Linked DNA regions of Homo sapiens: regions 2, 3, 4 and 5 are each linked to region 1. Evidence: promoter capture Hi-C in 16 types of primary human blood cells and fetal thymus (Javierre and others, 2016). All regions are on one chromosome and are shown on one strand. The core of a region is centred on a gene start or on the middle of the fragment in contact, and the rest is flanking DNA. Distances in the headings are between cores, read along the strand shown.

What was found. The method cuts DNA at HindIII sites, captures the fragments that hold promoters and counts their contacts. A CHiCAGO score of 5 or more calls a contact.
Region 2: a fragment that was not itself captured here is called in contact with the fragment with the promoter of SLF2 in region 1 in 1 of 17 cell types (M2 macrophages); the score reaches 5.1 in M2 macrophages.
Region 3: a contact is called between a fragment that was not itself captured here and the fragment with the promoter of SLF2 in region 1, in 1 of 17 cell types (M2 macrophages). The highest score is 8.5, in M2 macrophages.
Region 4: the fragment with the promoter of CHUK here is called in contact with the fragment with the promoter of SLF2 in region 1 in 6 of 17 cell types (M2 macrophages, M1 macrophages, M0 macrophages and 3 more); the score reaches 14.3 in M2 macrophages.
Region 5: the fragment with the promoter of SCD here is called in contact with the fragment with the promoter of SLF2 in region 1 in 6 of 17 cell types (M2 macrophages, M1 macrophages, M0 macrophages and 3 more); the score reaches 7.9 in M2 macrophages.

The regions. Positions count from the first base shown.
Region 1 is chr10:100,911,565-100,914,328 of GRCh38, reverse strand. SLF2 (SMC5/6 complex localization factor 2) reads right to left here and starts at 1,366. Exons shown (of 20, transcript NM_018121.4): 1 at 1,079-1,366. The coding sequence starts at 1,218. RefSeq lists enhancers at 1,217-1,266, 1,287-1,356 and a silencer at 1,577-1,846. The HindIII fragment of the contact is 2,989 bases long and covers 1-2,475 here.
Region 2 is chr10:100,179,935-100,182,698 of GRCh38, reverse strand. The region is part of intron 2 of ERLIN1 (ER lipid raft associated 1); the gene reads left to right. Among named protein-coding and RNA genes, the nearest start is that of ERLIN1, 4.7 kb to the left of the region's middle. The HindIII fragment of the contact is 4,344 bases long and covers 1-2,764 here.
Region 3 is chr10:100,200,781-100,203,544 of GRCh38, reverse strand. CHUK (component of inhibitor of nuclear factor kappa B kinase complex) reads left to right here. Exons shown (of 21, transcript NM_001278.5): 14 at 1,396-1,457. Among named protein-coding and RNA genes, the nearest start is that of ERLIN1, 16 kb to the right of the region's middle. The HindIII fragment of the contact is 3,181 bases long and covers 1-2,764 here.
Region 4 is chr10:100,228,167-100,230,930 of GRCh38, reverse strand. CHUK (component of inhibitor of nuclear factor kappa B kinase complex) reads left to right here and starts at 1,335. Exons shown (of 21, transcript NM_001278.5): 1 at 1,335-1,503. The coding sequence starts at 1,399. It overlaps CHUK-DT (CHUK divergent transcript), which reads right to left and starts at 1,271. Exons shown (of 4, transcript NR_186419.1): 1 at 1,207-1,271. RefSeq lists silencers at 26-288, 1,358-1,597 and an enhancer at 1,198-1,247. The HindIII fragment of the contact is 6,397 bases long and covers 353-2,764 here.
Region 5 is chr10:100,345,799-100,348,562 of GRCh38, reverse strand. It overlaps SCD (stearoyl-CoA desaturase), which reads right to left and starts at 1,330. Exons shown (of 6, transcript NM_005063.5): 1 at 1,032-1,330; 2 at 217-499. The coding sequence starts at 1,058. RefSeq lists enhancers at 966-1,205, 1,586-1,655, 1,304-1,895 and silencers at 1,436-1,485, 1,686-2,065. The HindIII fragment of the contact is 6,474 bases long and covers 839-2,764 here.

The DNA.
Region 1 (2,764 bases), core at 117-2,616:
CTGGCTTAAAAAAAAACACACACACACACACAATTATAACAGTTTCACAAACCCTTATCTGAACCTTCTGGGGCCAAATGTGTTTTAGAATTCTGAATTTATCAGATTTTAGGAAGGGGATAACTTGGATGTATTATGGAAAGTCCCCAGTGGGGTCTGGTGCTGCAACCTGTAATCAAATCCACTGACATTTCTCCAGCAAAACATGAATATTCACACTTAATGGGATAAAGACCACAAACAGCCTTACATTAGTTTTAGTCAGATCTGGCTGCCCAGTAAGATGTGGTGCCAAACTTACTGAAAACGTTTTGGTTTTCATAGCTTTCTGGCTTTCAGAGTTAAGATAAGGGATTGTGGGCCTGTACCACAGTATTAGTAACATGAATATTGTTAAAACTTAATACAATTTAACTTAAAATAAAAGACAGTACCAAGTTCGTAGGGAATTTAAACATGTTTTATTGTCAGAGGATGTCATTAGATGAAACTCCCCATCTCATTACATAGCTCCCACAAAATCTTTACAAAAAAATTAGCCTCTTGGAGAGGCGTGAAGTTACTGAAAGAGAAAACACGTCACATTCCAAATCTGCAAGTTCTTTTAAGTATGAACTAGCGTGCACGCTGGACTACAAAGTAATTCGTGGAAGGGATTCCCTCATCACAGGTTACATAATTTCACCCACAACATAGAAAAGGTTTATATTACTAAACCACTAGGATCAGTAGAACTGACAACGTACAGAAAACGATCTAAATATGCATTAAGCAGTTAGGGTCCCGGGTCAAACTCTTGCAAAGGAAAAAAATCACTTTCTTTCTACCTAAGGCGGGTTCTCCGTAGCTGTCCAGGCTGGTGGTCACTAGACCAAGAGCAGCTGCCCAACTACAGAGAAGCAAACTCCAACTCCCAGTAGCCCCTGCGCGGAGGCGGGGCGGGGATTTGCCAGGCCCCGAAATGCCAACGCCTGAGCTCGCGGAGGATGGCGGGAACTGGAAGAGCGGCGGTCTGCAGCCCTCCCCTCATACCCTTGCCCCCGCGACCCGGCCCCTTCTCAAGCCCTCTGCACGGTACCTGTCCCCAGGACTCTCTGTTCTCTTTCCCGCTGCAGCATGGGCGGTACTACCGGGTCTCAGATGGCAGCGCGGGGGCGACGACCCCGGGGCTGGGGATGAGGGGAAACCTGGCCTAGCGGGCATGCAGCGCCTTGTCATGTCGGCGCCGCTGGCGACGGCGGCATGAGCCGTGGCTGGAGAAGTTGGGTGCGTGGTTGCCGTCTTGCTGCTGGGACTCCGGGAGGCTGTCGGAGCAGAGGTGGGCGGCACCCCCTTCTCTCTTCATGGCGGTTCTCTCTTCGGAAGTGACTCCGGCGTGAGCGGGAAGGAACCTGGGGACCAGTAAGGGGCGGGTCTTACTTCATGAATCACGTCTTGATTGGCTGGCACGGTGGTCATTTCGGTGGTGGCGCAATAGGAAGCCGCAGCCTCTCTGGAGAAGGCGGGGCTTGGGGACGGGGGAGGAAGAAACCTCCCCCTCCCACCCCGTCACATGCACTGAGGGCGCGCGCCTCTGGTCCCGGCCGCCTCGGCCTTGGCCGGCGCGCGGGGGCGGAAAGGCGCGGGCAGCAGCTGGCGGACAGCTGACGACACCCGCCTGGTTGAAGGCGAGGGGTGAGGGTTTGCTGAAGCAAACCGGAGCCCGGCAGCTGCCTTCGTTGAGGATGGCCAACACTTGGGCTTCCTGTGTCACACAATTGTGCCTCAGAAATCCGCAGCTGTTCATTACATCGTCTCTTTAACAGCTTAGGCCAAAGTGCCATAATACTGTCACAATTTGCTGAGGGATCTGCACAGCGCGATCCGAAGACTTGTCCATTCTACGACGGTTCTTGTTGAGTGTCAGCGGTAGATTATTTTTTTGTCTTTAAGAAGAAGAAAAAACCCCCAAAAAACTCCATTGGAATAAAGACAGTTGTTAATCCACAAAAGCATTTTGTTTCTCATGAGTTACCATGAAGTCTCTGCAGCCGACTTCCTTGGAGATTTTTTAAAGGAACACAAGGTCAGCTTTCAGTTTTCCATGTTAAGCGTGGGCAGCATAGATAAGTAAAAGCTGCCTGCAATCTCCAACCCTCCTTTGTAAAGGGCTTGTGCTCTGGAGGCTGTTAGCCATGGTTTTCCTTATAAACCGAGAGACTGGTCAGTATCTCTGAACCTCAGCCTCCACATCTGTAAAACGGGCATTTTACTCACTTTTCTGGGTAATTGTAAACCATAAAAGGATAAAACAGTGTACACTGCACAGTTCAGATTCTCTCATGTAACAGGTACAGAGCAAATTATAGTTCCCTTTCTTCCCCAGATAGATTCCTACAGCGAATTTTACTTCTTTACAAAATCTTCCAGAGACAGGTCAAATACTGTTGCAATAACTGTTAACAACCAAAATATCAATTTCAAGATGTCCAAGCTTTAATTGACAGAGTTATTTAATCAGTTGGATGGAAAAAAATCTTAAATGATATAAAATAATTTGGACGGGTCTTTCAAGTTTATTGTATAGAAATTGAACTATTGGCCTGATACAGTTGCTCACATCTATAATCCCAGCAGTTTGGGAGGCCAAGGCAGGTGGATAGCTTGAGCCCGGGAGTTGGAGACTAGCCTGGGCAACATAGCAAGACCCTGTCTCAAAAATAAATTAATTAATTAAAATTTAGAAAAAACGAAATTGAACTGTTCTGGTCACTAAGCATGCCTG
Region 2 (2,764 bases), core at 84-2,583, 730 kb after region 1:
GTCTTATTTTCTTTAATATTGTTGTCTTGCATTGTTTGCTAAGTTTTTTTATGTGTTTTCTTTCCAGAAAGGCTCCAGTTTTCTTAAAGGCAGGAGTTGTAACACATTTATATTTCTGGCTTTCTATTTATGGTGGAAGTTGTTAAATTGAGCTGATTTCTCAGGAAGCAATGTGGTGTAATGAACATGGGGACCCAGCGTTACCGCCAGTTGGTGGCATGACTTTGGAAAAATTGCTTAACTGTCATAGACTTCAGTTAGTCTTCTGTGAAAGGAGGAATTTTAATTACATAACCTCATCAACAGCCGAAACAATCTATAATAATGTTAGCAATGGCAGCATTAGACCCTTAAAAATCAAGACTCTAAGGCCCGGCGCAGTGGCTCATGCCTGTAATCCGAGCACTTTGGGAGGCTGAAGCAGGTGGATCACTTGAGCCTAGGAGTTTGAGACCAGCCTGGGCAACATGGGGAAACTCCGTCTCTTAAAAAAAAAAAAAAAAAAAAATCAAGGCTCTAACAAATAGATCTTGTTCAAAACCAGGTAGATCTGTCTCTGCCTTCATGCTTAGTATGTTAAGTCATACTGATGCAAAAATATAAATAAAGGAGATATAGATAATAGTAAACAGATTTTGGAGTTTAATTGTGTATATATATAACAAATATAGTGTGTGTATATATTTAATAATAAACTATCATAAGAGATGTAAATGAAATTAGTACAGAGACTTCAGTGTAAACTAAAATACTTCGCATCTACAAAAAAGTTTTACATGGGCTAGAGCCAGCCAGTGTGACTAAATAGGAATGTTCTTTATGTGTAAAACGGTAACATTCTAGGAAATAATTATATTAATAAAACCATATTTAAAAAGTGTTCTTGGCCGGGCGTGGCGGCTCACGCCTGTAATCCCAGCACTTTGGGAGGCCGAGGCAGGCAGATCACTTGAGGTCAGGAGTTCAAGACCAGCCTGGCCAACCTGGTCAAACGCTGTGTCTACAAAAATACAAAAATTAGCTGGGCGTGGTTGTGCGTGCCTGTAATCCCAGCTATTTGGGAGGCTGAGGCAGGAGAATCGCTTGAACCTGGGAGACCGAGGTTGCAGTGAGCCGAGATCGTACCCTTGCACTCCAGCCTGGGCAACAGAGGAAGACTCCGTCTCAAAAAAAAAAAAAAAAAAAGAGTGTTCTTAAGAGAGTAAGACATAAATTTATTTTTAGGAATTTTTGGAACATATTAGAAGACATAGTCCAGATAAACAAATGGTTTAACAAACTTGGCAATTGAAAGGAATGTATATAAATGTGAAATTCCATATATGATGTAAAAAGAAAAAGCAATGGAGAAATTATATGAAAACCTTCAGCCTTCATAAAGTAACCATAGATTCACTTTTTAAATAAATTTTCTGTCATACTGGGAAAGTAATTTTTAAGAGGACATAAAAGAAATATAAAAGTACATAAAGATAGGGTGTTAAATGGAAGATTTAACATTTGAACCCTTTCCTAGTTCTTCTGAGTTTGAAAATTGGCTAGAGAATATCCTTTTGGTTTAAATAGGAACGTGTATTTAAAGTTGGTGTGGAATATGGAAACTGAATTAATGTTATAAAGGAAATAAATATAATTTGTCTCTTCATCAATCCCCTTAACCTAGAACTGCCACCAATGTTTACTGTCATTCTAATGTCTCAACCTAAGAGTTATTTTTTATTCTTTCCCCTCCTGGAATTTTATATCAACCAAGTATCAGATACCTCCTCTATTATGTCTGGATTGACAGCTTTCATGGCCTTTACTGAATTAATCTAAATAAATTAATTATTTAGCCTCCCAGCTGGTTTTCTTACCTCCCTATAAGATGGAGAATGAGAACTACATCACATGTGAGAAAAGGAATTAAGTAAACATATTTTTGAATGGTTCGTTTTGTGACTGTATATAAGGTGAACTAGAGAGATCCCAAACTCCCCAGCCAGCATTCAGGGCCCTCTGTCTAGTATTACCATGGTCTCTTGTCAGAATTTCATCTTTCATCCAAATTGTCCCTTCTGCTCCAGGCAAGCCTATCTACTTTCGTTCGCCTATACACATGTTGTCTTCAACTGTGTGTATTTCAGTAGGATATTTATTGAGCTTAAGATGTTCCTCTGCCTCATCTGTTCTTATTTCTCCCACTCTAGACCTGGCTTATAAATCCTTCACCTCAGAGAGCTTTTCAAACTACTATTTTTTTCACTTTCTGTAATTTACCACTTAACAGTTCAGTTTATAATTTGTGTTTTTGGTTTTGTTTTGTTTTGTTTTGTACCTGTTGATGGATTGATTGCATTGTAACATTTTGTCTCCTGTGCTGGATTGTGAACTCTTTGGAAACAGGGACTGTGATTCCTTTTTCCTTTGCTTTGTGCTTGATAAGATGCAGTATGTCTAGAATGTACTCATTAGGTGCTGACCTATTTGAGGCCTTAGAGTACAGCAGGAAGTCATTCATTCTGGATCTGAACAAAGGTGTGACAAGGGCAAAGCAATTAAGTACCAGATTGTTGGTTCACCAGGAGGAAGCAGTACTGGTGGTAGCACTTCTATTAAAAAGGAAACTGAATAGGACATGTGAGAGATCACTAGGTATTAAACTAAAATGTTGACCACAGCTTTAGAGAAGAAAGGTTGCTGTTGGATTCAAGGGCAGCTTTGAGTCTTAGAGTACTTGTATGCATAAAATCTCTTTTATCTTCAACATAAATAGTAATATTAG
Region 3 (2,764 bases), core at 181-2,680, 710 kb after region 1:
CTCTGTGTATCTCAGAGTAAACAATCAATAGTGTCCAGTTGGGTGAATGAATTTACTCTCCAGAACTGGTTTTATTAATATTATTGATATTTTATTTCTATTTATATATTATTGATATTTTATTTCTATTTGTATATTATTGACATTCTGGTGAGTGATAAAACATTATAATTATTTCATTAAAATATCTTAGACTTGTCAAAGGCTTATTATACAATTGTTAAAGAAAAATGAGGTAGATCTATATGTGCTTTTATTAAAAGATCACCTAAGTCTTTAGTTGACAGTTTTAAATTGTGGGAAAAAATAAAGAGTATACAGATGTTTTCACTTGTGAGGGAGCAGGCTATGTGTCTATGTAACAGATAATCATAGTAAGGTCCCTTGAGGTGGATGGTAGAGGGGTAGAAGAGAGAGTCTTTTCTGTTTATATCCTTTTATAGTATTTAATTTTTAAAAATCATATTCAAGTATTAAATTTCTTTTCTGGCCAGGTGGTGACTCACGCCTGTAATCCCAACACTTTGGGAGGCCAAAGCAGGTGGATCCCTTGAGCTCAGGAATTCAAGACTAACCTGGGCAACATGGGGTAGAACGCCATCTCTACAAAAAATGTAAAAATTAGCCGGGCATGGTGGTGCACACCTCAGCTATTCAGGAGGCTAAGGTGGGAGGATCGCTTGAGCCCTGGAGATAGAGGTTGCGGTGAGCTGAGATCATGCCACTGCACTCCAGCCTGGGTGACAGAGTGAGACTCTACCTCAAAAAAAAATTTTTTTTGTTGTTTTTTCCTTTATCCACCCATCTGCACACTGGTATAAATATATATATTTTTAAGAAAAAAGTCATCTGTATTCATTTCCTAAGGGTTCCATAACAAAATCCCATAAACTGAGTGGCTTAAGCAATGGAAACTTACTGTCTCACAGCCCTGGAGGCTAAAAGTCCAAAATTGAGGTGTTGGCAGGGCCATGTTTTCTCTGAAATCTGTAGAGAAGAATCTTTCCTTGTTTCTCTCTAGCTTCTTATGGTCTGCTAGCCATCATTGGCATTCCTTGGCTTACAGCTGCAGCACCTCAATCTGTCTCCATTGTCACAGAGCATTCTCCCCTGTGTATCTGTATCCTGTGTCTCTTCTAAGTACACTGGTCGTACTGGACTAAGGGCCCAGACCATTCCAGTATGAGTATTAATTTATCTGATTACTTCTGTAATGACCTTATTTCCAAATAGGTCACATTCTGAGGTATTAGGGGTTAGGAATTCCACATATCTTTTGGGGGACCACAATTCAACTCATAACACATCTTTGATGTTGATATGGCAAGGAGGCAGGCAGCCAGTAATTAAAGATATGGCTATTTCTGAGATAACCAATTTAGACTTTTCTTTTAGCTTCAGAAAAAATGCTAAAAGCATGGAAAGAAATGGAAGAAAAGGCCATCCACTATGCTGAGGTAAAATCATTGACGTCATTCTGTATACTTATTAATTCTTGATGTCTCCATTAGAAACTATCTTTGGTTTTGATATATAAAGAGCATTTTTCATGTCATTCCTGAAATTCAGACAAAATTCTAGTAGATGCTTTGTATATAAAGAGGGATGTATCATAGTGATTAAAAACAAGGGCTTTGGGAAAATTACCTAGTGCCTCACTGAGCTTCAGTTTCCTTTATTTATTTATTTTTTGAAACAGGGTCTCACTCTGTTGCCCAGGTTGGAGTGTAGTGGCATGATCAAAGCTCACTGCAGCCTCGACTTCCCAGGCTCAAGCAGTCCTCCCATCTTAGCCTCCTGTGTAGCTGGGACAAGAGGTGCACCACCATGCCTGGCTAACTTTTACATTTTTTGTAGAGACGGGGTCTCACTATGTTGTCCAGGCTTGTATCAAACTCCTGGGCTTAAGCAATCCTCCCACCTCAGCCTCCCATAGAGCTGGGATTATAGGCATGAGCCACCACATCCAGCTAGTTTCCATATTATAGGGACAATTTCTTTTCTAGTAGGGTTATGAAGATTAAATGGGAGTCAGTAATGGTAGTTGTCACTATTATTTTTGTGACTGGTTTAGATAGGATGGCTGCACATCCTGGTTTACCTGGGACTGTCCCAGTTTATACTTAATGTCTTGCCATAATTATCAGTAGTAGTCCCTTTCACTCTCAAAATTATGCCGGTTTGGACAATAAATTATATGGTGTCCCTAGGTATAGCTCATTCTCTAGGTGGCAGATTTTTTCCCCTTATCCTGTACATTTGTCCACGGTCCTAAGTTATTACACTCCTTAATGTCAGTACTTACCCTGAGGATGTGGGTGGGGATACCCATGGTGTCCTGGGGTGGGAAATCCAAGTTCTTTATCTTTTTGTGTCCCTATTCAAGGTAGTGGGGACCAGGGGGCAGTCAAAATCATAGAGCCAAGATACAAGTAATACCAATGGTTTTGGTGGTCCTTTTTCTTTCTTGTTAGTTGATACCTGTTGTAGCTTTTTGCTTCTCCGGAGGTAAAAGCAAATACTAGTAGTTTACTGTTGTCAGGAGAGAAAAGAGAGAAGACTAAGACTAAGTATGTTCTTATGTGAAAGATTAAGTGTCAGAATCTGAAGAATAGAAAGGCTTTAACAAAATCAGTGTTTCGTATTATATTATTTAGTTCTCTAATGAAGCAGCAAGTCATTCTGTATCCTTAAGATCTGAATTTTGTTTCCTATGATGTAGTGGTAAGCCTTTCATTTCCTTTGTATTTTCATCATATTTTAG
Region 4 (2,764 bases), core at 86-2,585, 680 kb after region 1:
ACAATTCTCTGTGCGGTCTGCCCAGCTCTAAATGACATGTCCTCAGAGGCATCATCATCTCCAAGTCCATGGAAACCATGCACTTACAGAAACCAGAACCTCCCATACCACATGTTACTAATGACCTACAACATCGACTTCGTCTGTATCATGCAGTGCTCAACATTCTGGTTGCAGCATCACATTTATCAATAATTTGATTCCATGCTGATTCCTTTACTTGGAGTATTGAGATCCCCCAGGTACAGTGAAGGTATGACCCTCTTAAATGGAAGACCAGGAGTTGTTTCCCCTATGCTATGGCAATCCGCCACCCGGAAGCACTTGCTGCACCAACAGCATTCCCAAAGCTTGCCTCTGCAGCCCTGTAGCACCCATTAGAAACACTTCTCACAATGAACTACTGTGCTGGCAAACCCATAACTGGACTGCCGGACAGCAAGCTCTGTGAGGCATCTAGGAAAAAAGCTCGCGAAATCCCGAGAAACACTCTTCACTCCGGAATAGCGTCACATTCTTGAGTCATTTGGGATGACAGGGGATATCCTGGAGCAGGTGTATTGGGAAGTCAGTGAACAAGAAGGCTAATTCATTAGTGGGCCTGCTAGCGTAGTATTTTAACGATTTCGCAGCCTTTAAATCATTGGTGGTCTTTAGCGTGCCGGATCAGCTGGTGGTGGAGTTGGAGGATAGATGGCAGGGATCTGAAGAAAGGTGAAGTGTAGATAGGAGTAGAGACAATATGAAGTTTAGAAAAGACTAATTGCTGGACGCGGTGGCTCATGTCTATAATCCCAGCACTCTGGGATGCCAAGGTGGGAGGACTACTTGAGACCAGGAGTTCGGGACCAGCCTGGGCAACGTAGCAAGACCATGTCTCTACAAAAAATAAAAAATTAGCCAAGCGAGGTGGTGCGCGCCTGCAATCCCAGCTACTCGGGAGGTGAGAAGATCGCTTAATTCCGGGAGGTCGAGGCTGCAGTGAGCCGTGATCGTGCCATTGCACTCCAGCCTGGGCAACGGAGCGAGACCCCATCTTAATTAAAAAGAAAAAAATACAGGAGAGACTGGGCTGCTTTGAAAAGTGGATTTGACGGGAATGTGGGGTTTGGAGAGATCTTATGTTTTCCAAGACTAGAAAAACATTGTGGTTCCGTTCAGCCCTCCCGGAAAATACGTAGGGGACTTAAAGAGCGGACCGAGTACCTGTTTGTTTCCCCATCCCTTAGCCGGCAGGGCTCTGGCAGCGCCCTGGGAGAACTTAGGGAAGGGCCTTCTCGCAGCGGTTACCGGAAGTGACGCATTCATTCTCGCGAGAACAAAGACGCGCGAGCATCGGCGGCCCGGAACCGGCCTTGGAACAACTGTGGAACCTGAGGCCGCTTGCCCTCCCGCCCCATGGAGCGGCCCCCGGGGCTGCGGCCGGGCGCGGGCGGGCCCTGGGAGATGCGGGAGCGGCTGGGCACCGGCGGCTTCGGGAACGTCTGTCTGTACCAGCATCGGGTGAGGCGGGGCGTGAGAGGGAGCGGCGGTGGGTTGGAGCGGCGGTGGGTTTGAGCGTCTGTGGAACACAGGGCTGACAGTGTGGGATAGATGGTTGGTGGGACCTTGGGCAGTATTTGGGGGCCAGTGGGCTTGTGTGTGTGTATTAGAGAGAAAGATACTATGCCTGTGTGTCCAAAGTTGTATTTGAGGTACTGGGCATAGATAGAGCTGTTGCGGGGAACTTGGGTATGACTGTCAGGCTGTGACCAGGTGTTTAGTGAGTGTGACAGTGCGTGTGTGTCTCTGTGAATGTGGAGTGTCAGGGTGTGTGAGGCAGATGCACGTCACAGTGTGTATGTAGGAGCACGAATGTGTGAGAAGAGGGCTGAAGGGGACTGCCTTTGGGAATGTGTGCGTCCGTGTGTGTGTGTGTGTGTGTGTGTGTGTGTGTGCGCGCGCGCGCGCGCGCTTGGAGGCCATATGATATCAGTGGGGACTGGAGTAGACAAGGAAGGCTTCATGATGGGTCCAGAGTTAAGCCTTTGGAAGCATGGATGGGCTTTGGAATTGGGGATGTATTCCAGGTCGGGACAGTATGAGGGTGAGTTGGTGCAGAGCATGGCTTCAAACGAAAGGCTATATTAGTAGATGGAGATGGGGGGCGCTCTAGTAGGTGGAGGACAGTTAACATCAGACTCAAGAATTTTACTTTGATTTAATAGAGAATGTTTAACCATTGTAGTAGCAGTTAAAAAATCATATTTGGGTCTTGTTTGTTTGTTTTTGTTTTTGAGACGGAGTCTCACTCTGTCGCCCAGGCTGGAATGCAGGGCGCGATCTCGGCTCACTGCAGCCTCCTCCTCCCGAGTTCAAGCGATTCTCCTGCCACAGCCTCCTGAGTAGCTGGGATTACAGGCGCCCGCCACCGTGCCTGGCTAATTTTTTTGTATTTTTAGTAGAGACGGGGTTTCACCATGTTGGCCAGGCTGGTCTCGAACTCCTGACCTCAGGCGATCCACCTGTCTCAGGCTCCCAAAGTGCAGAGATTATAGGCGTGAGCCACGGCACCAGGCCTGGGACATGTATTTTTTGATATACCGATAAAAGCTGTGAACCCTTTCCCCAGAAAAATGCACAGATGCACATTCACACAACCATGCATTGCCATTTGAGAGGTTCGTGCCTTCCTAAAGGACATTTTAGGTAAATAGACCCTGGACTAATAATTCCTGTAATATAGGCTTTGTTTTGTTGCCTGTAAAGTAAGTATAGTATAATA
Region 5 (2,764 bases), core at 81-2,580, 570 kb after region 1:
TTCCAAAGCTCTCAACCCCCAGCATTGACAGTCCTGCATCTCAGTACCCCCAGGTTCTTCCCAGCCCACTAGGCCTGAAGCAACCAAAGAGAAATGCCTGAGAAAAACCCCAACCGGGAGGCTGGGAGGGGCTGGTGTCCTCTGTAAGATCCTACCTTATTAAAAGAGCAGTGAGTACCTGGAGGACTAGGTCAGGAGGACAGGGAGGCTGCTTACCCCAAAGCCAGGTGTAGAACTTGCAGGTAGGAATCAAAGTGATCCCATACAGGGCTCCCAAGTGTAGCAGAGACATAAGGATGATGTTTCTCCAGACATATTCAACCTTGGGGCTTGGGCCTTCCTTATCCTTGTAGGTGGGGTCATATATATCATCTTTTATATCAGGGCGAATGTCGTCTTCCAAGTAGAGGGGCATCGTCTCCAACTTATCTCCTCCATTCTGCAGGACCCTGGAGGGAGGCGCTGTAATGGTGGTGGTGGTGGTATAGGAGCTAGAGATCTGGAAGGGGGAGGAAGAGGAGAGTCAGGAGAAGAGACACGTGGAGGCAGCTGGGGCCACTCCGCTCTCTAATCACGCTGGGGGAAGGGTGGACAGTACGGACCCTTCCGCAGCGCCGTAGTTCACTGAGGGTAGGGTGTATCCGAGACGCAACGGAGAAAAGTTCCCTGAAACTGTACAGATACATTAGGGGCGGAGGGCGAGGGGGACGAGGGGCGCGAAACCTATCGGGAGGCGGCAGTAGGAAGGAGAAGTAAAGCACTCACATCCCCACGAAGACAAAGGAAAACCCGCATAATTCATAAAAGCACCAGCACGACCGGATTTTTCTTTAAAGCTTAAGAAACTAAAGTTGGAGACTCAAGTCCCCAAATTACAATCCACATTCCCAACTCACGGAAGGCAGCACAACTCGAAAAAGATGACCAAGTCCTCCGCGGAGCTCTCCCCTCTCTTCTGCCACCAACCCGTCCCCTGGAAGCCCAGCCCGCGCCTGCGACCCGGCGGTACGGGGCCAGGCTGGGAAACTCACATCGTCCTGCAGCAAGTGGGCCGGCATCTTGGCTCTCGGATGCCGGGATCACTTTCCAGGGGGCTGAGGCTCCGGAGCGGAGTTCGGGGTCGCCGGAGGACTGCGGTTTCGAAGCCCGCCGGTACGCGCTGAGCCGCGGCGCCTTGCACGCTAGCTGGTTGTCGGCGCTAGCCGCGGTGCGTGGAGGTCCCCGAGCCGGGAATTTAAAGGCTAGAGCTGGCAACGGGTGACCGTGTCCGGTATTTCCTCAGCCCCCTTTTATCCGCTGCCAAGCAGGGGCAAAGTGCGAGGAGTTGACTGGCGCGGGCGGTCCCGCGTGGAGGTAAGGGCGGGAGGGGGAGGAGACAGAGGCCGAGGCTCGCGGCGACCGCAGCAGGGCGCCGGGGATGCTGCCGACACCGACACCACACCACCCGGCCTCTGCCCCTGCCCCTGCCTCTGGGGAAATGCTAATGAGGCTTCTGTAAACTCCGGCTCGTCATTGGCCGAAGGGAATTTGGTGCCACCTCGTCCTGCCGTTGCCATTGGCTCGGCGCAATCTGCTGTTCCCTCTGCCGCCAGCTCCTCGCTCCCCCTCCCCTCTGTTTCTCCTTCTCAGCTTCTCTTCCACCCGCCGCTGGGCCTCTGCCCGGCATCCCGCGTCGGGAGCTTTCTCTCTGGAAGGGGCTGGGGACCCGGTTTGGGGCTGGGGCGCGGAGCCTAGCCCAGGACCGGCCCTCGGGCACACGGAGAACGGGTGGGTGGGCACTGGGGAAGTTTCTCAGGAAACAGTGGTGAACCCTCGGGGGGCGCCCACCACTAACATCTCCGTCCCGTCTTCCGTCCCCCCAGGCGCGTGGCAGGGAGACGTGGCAGCCACCCCAGGATCTGGAGCTTGGGGGACGCGGGAAGCCCCGCCTCCCTCCCGGGCGAGCGCGGGGGACTCGGTACGCCTGCGAACAATGGCTCTGCCCCGCCCACCAGCCACGCGCTGCTCACCCGGGACCGCACCGGACTCCGGCCGCACACACAGGCTGGCTGGTGTGTGTGTGCCTGCGCGCACGCATCCTGTTCAGGACCCGGGCGGGCAGTCCCATCCCCAAGCCCGCGCCTCCAGGATGCGTGCGGGATGTTTTGGAGATTCTTCAGACTGGCAGGTTGTAATTTTGGAATCTTCTTTGTGGAAACCGTCAGGAAACACTGACATGTGTTTTCACCCAGCAGCAGGCGAAAGGGCTTGGATGTGGAATAAGAATAGCTGGCAGGTATTGAATTATTACTGCAAGCCAATTCACAAGAATCGTTTTCTGTAAGCCTCTCTGTGACCCTGGGAGGTGGGTACCCCATTATTCCATTTTAAAAGTGAGGAAAGAGATATGGAGAGATGGAATAACTTGCCCATGGTCACAGCAACCAGTAAGTGATGGAGCTGGCAGTTGAGCCCAGAAACACCATATGAGAGCCCAAGCTCTTAATCCCTGCTCAGGACCATATTGCCCTCGGTCCCTGAGATGCTCTGACCCTACTGATCTGTCCCTGTGCCCCCATCTTTTCCGTGTCTGTAGGAGCCTTACCATGAGAGCTCAGAACCAGGCAGGCTATGCATTCACCCGGTGTCCTTCCATGCCCATGTCTTTCCCAAATACTGCCCTAGGATCCTTCCCCTGGGAAGAGGAGAAAATACGGAGTGCTGCGCCAATGATTCACTTCCCAGGAAGACAAGCACCTGGGATTTCCTGGGAGGTAGACTAAGC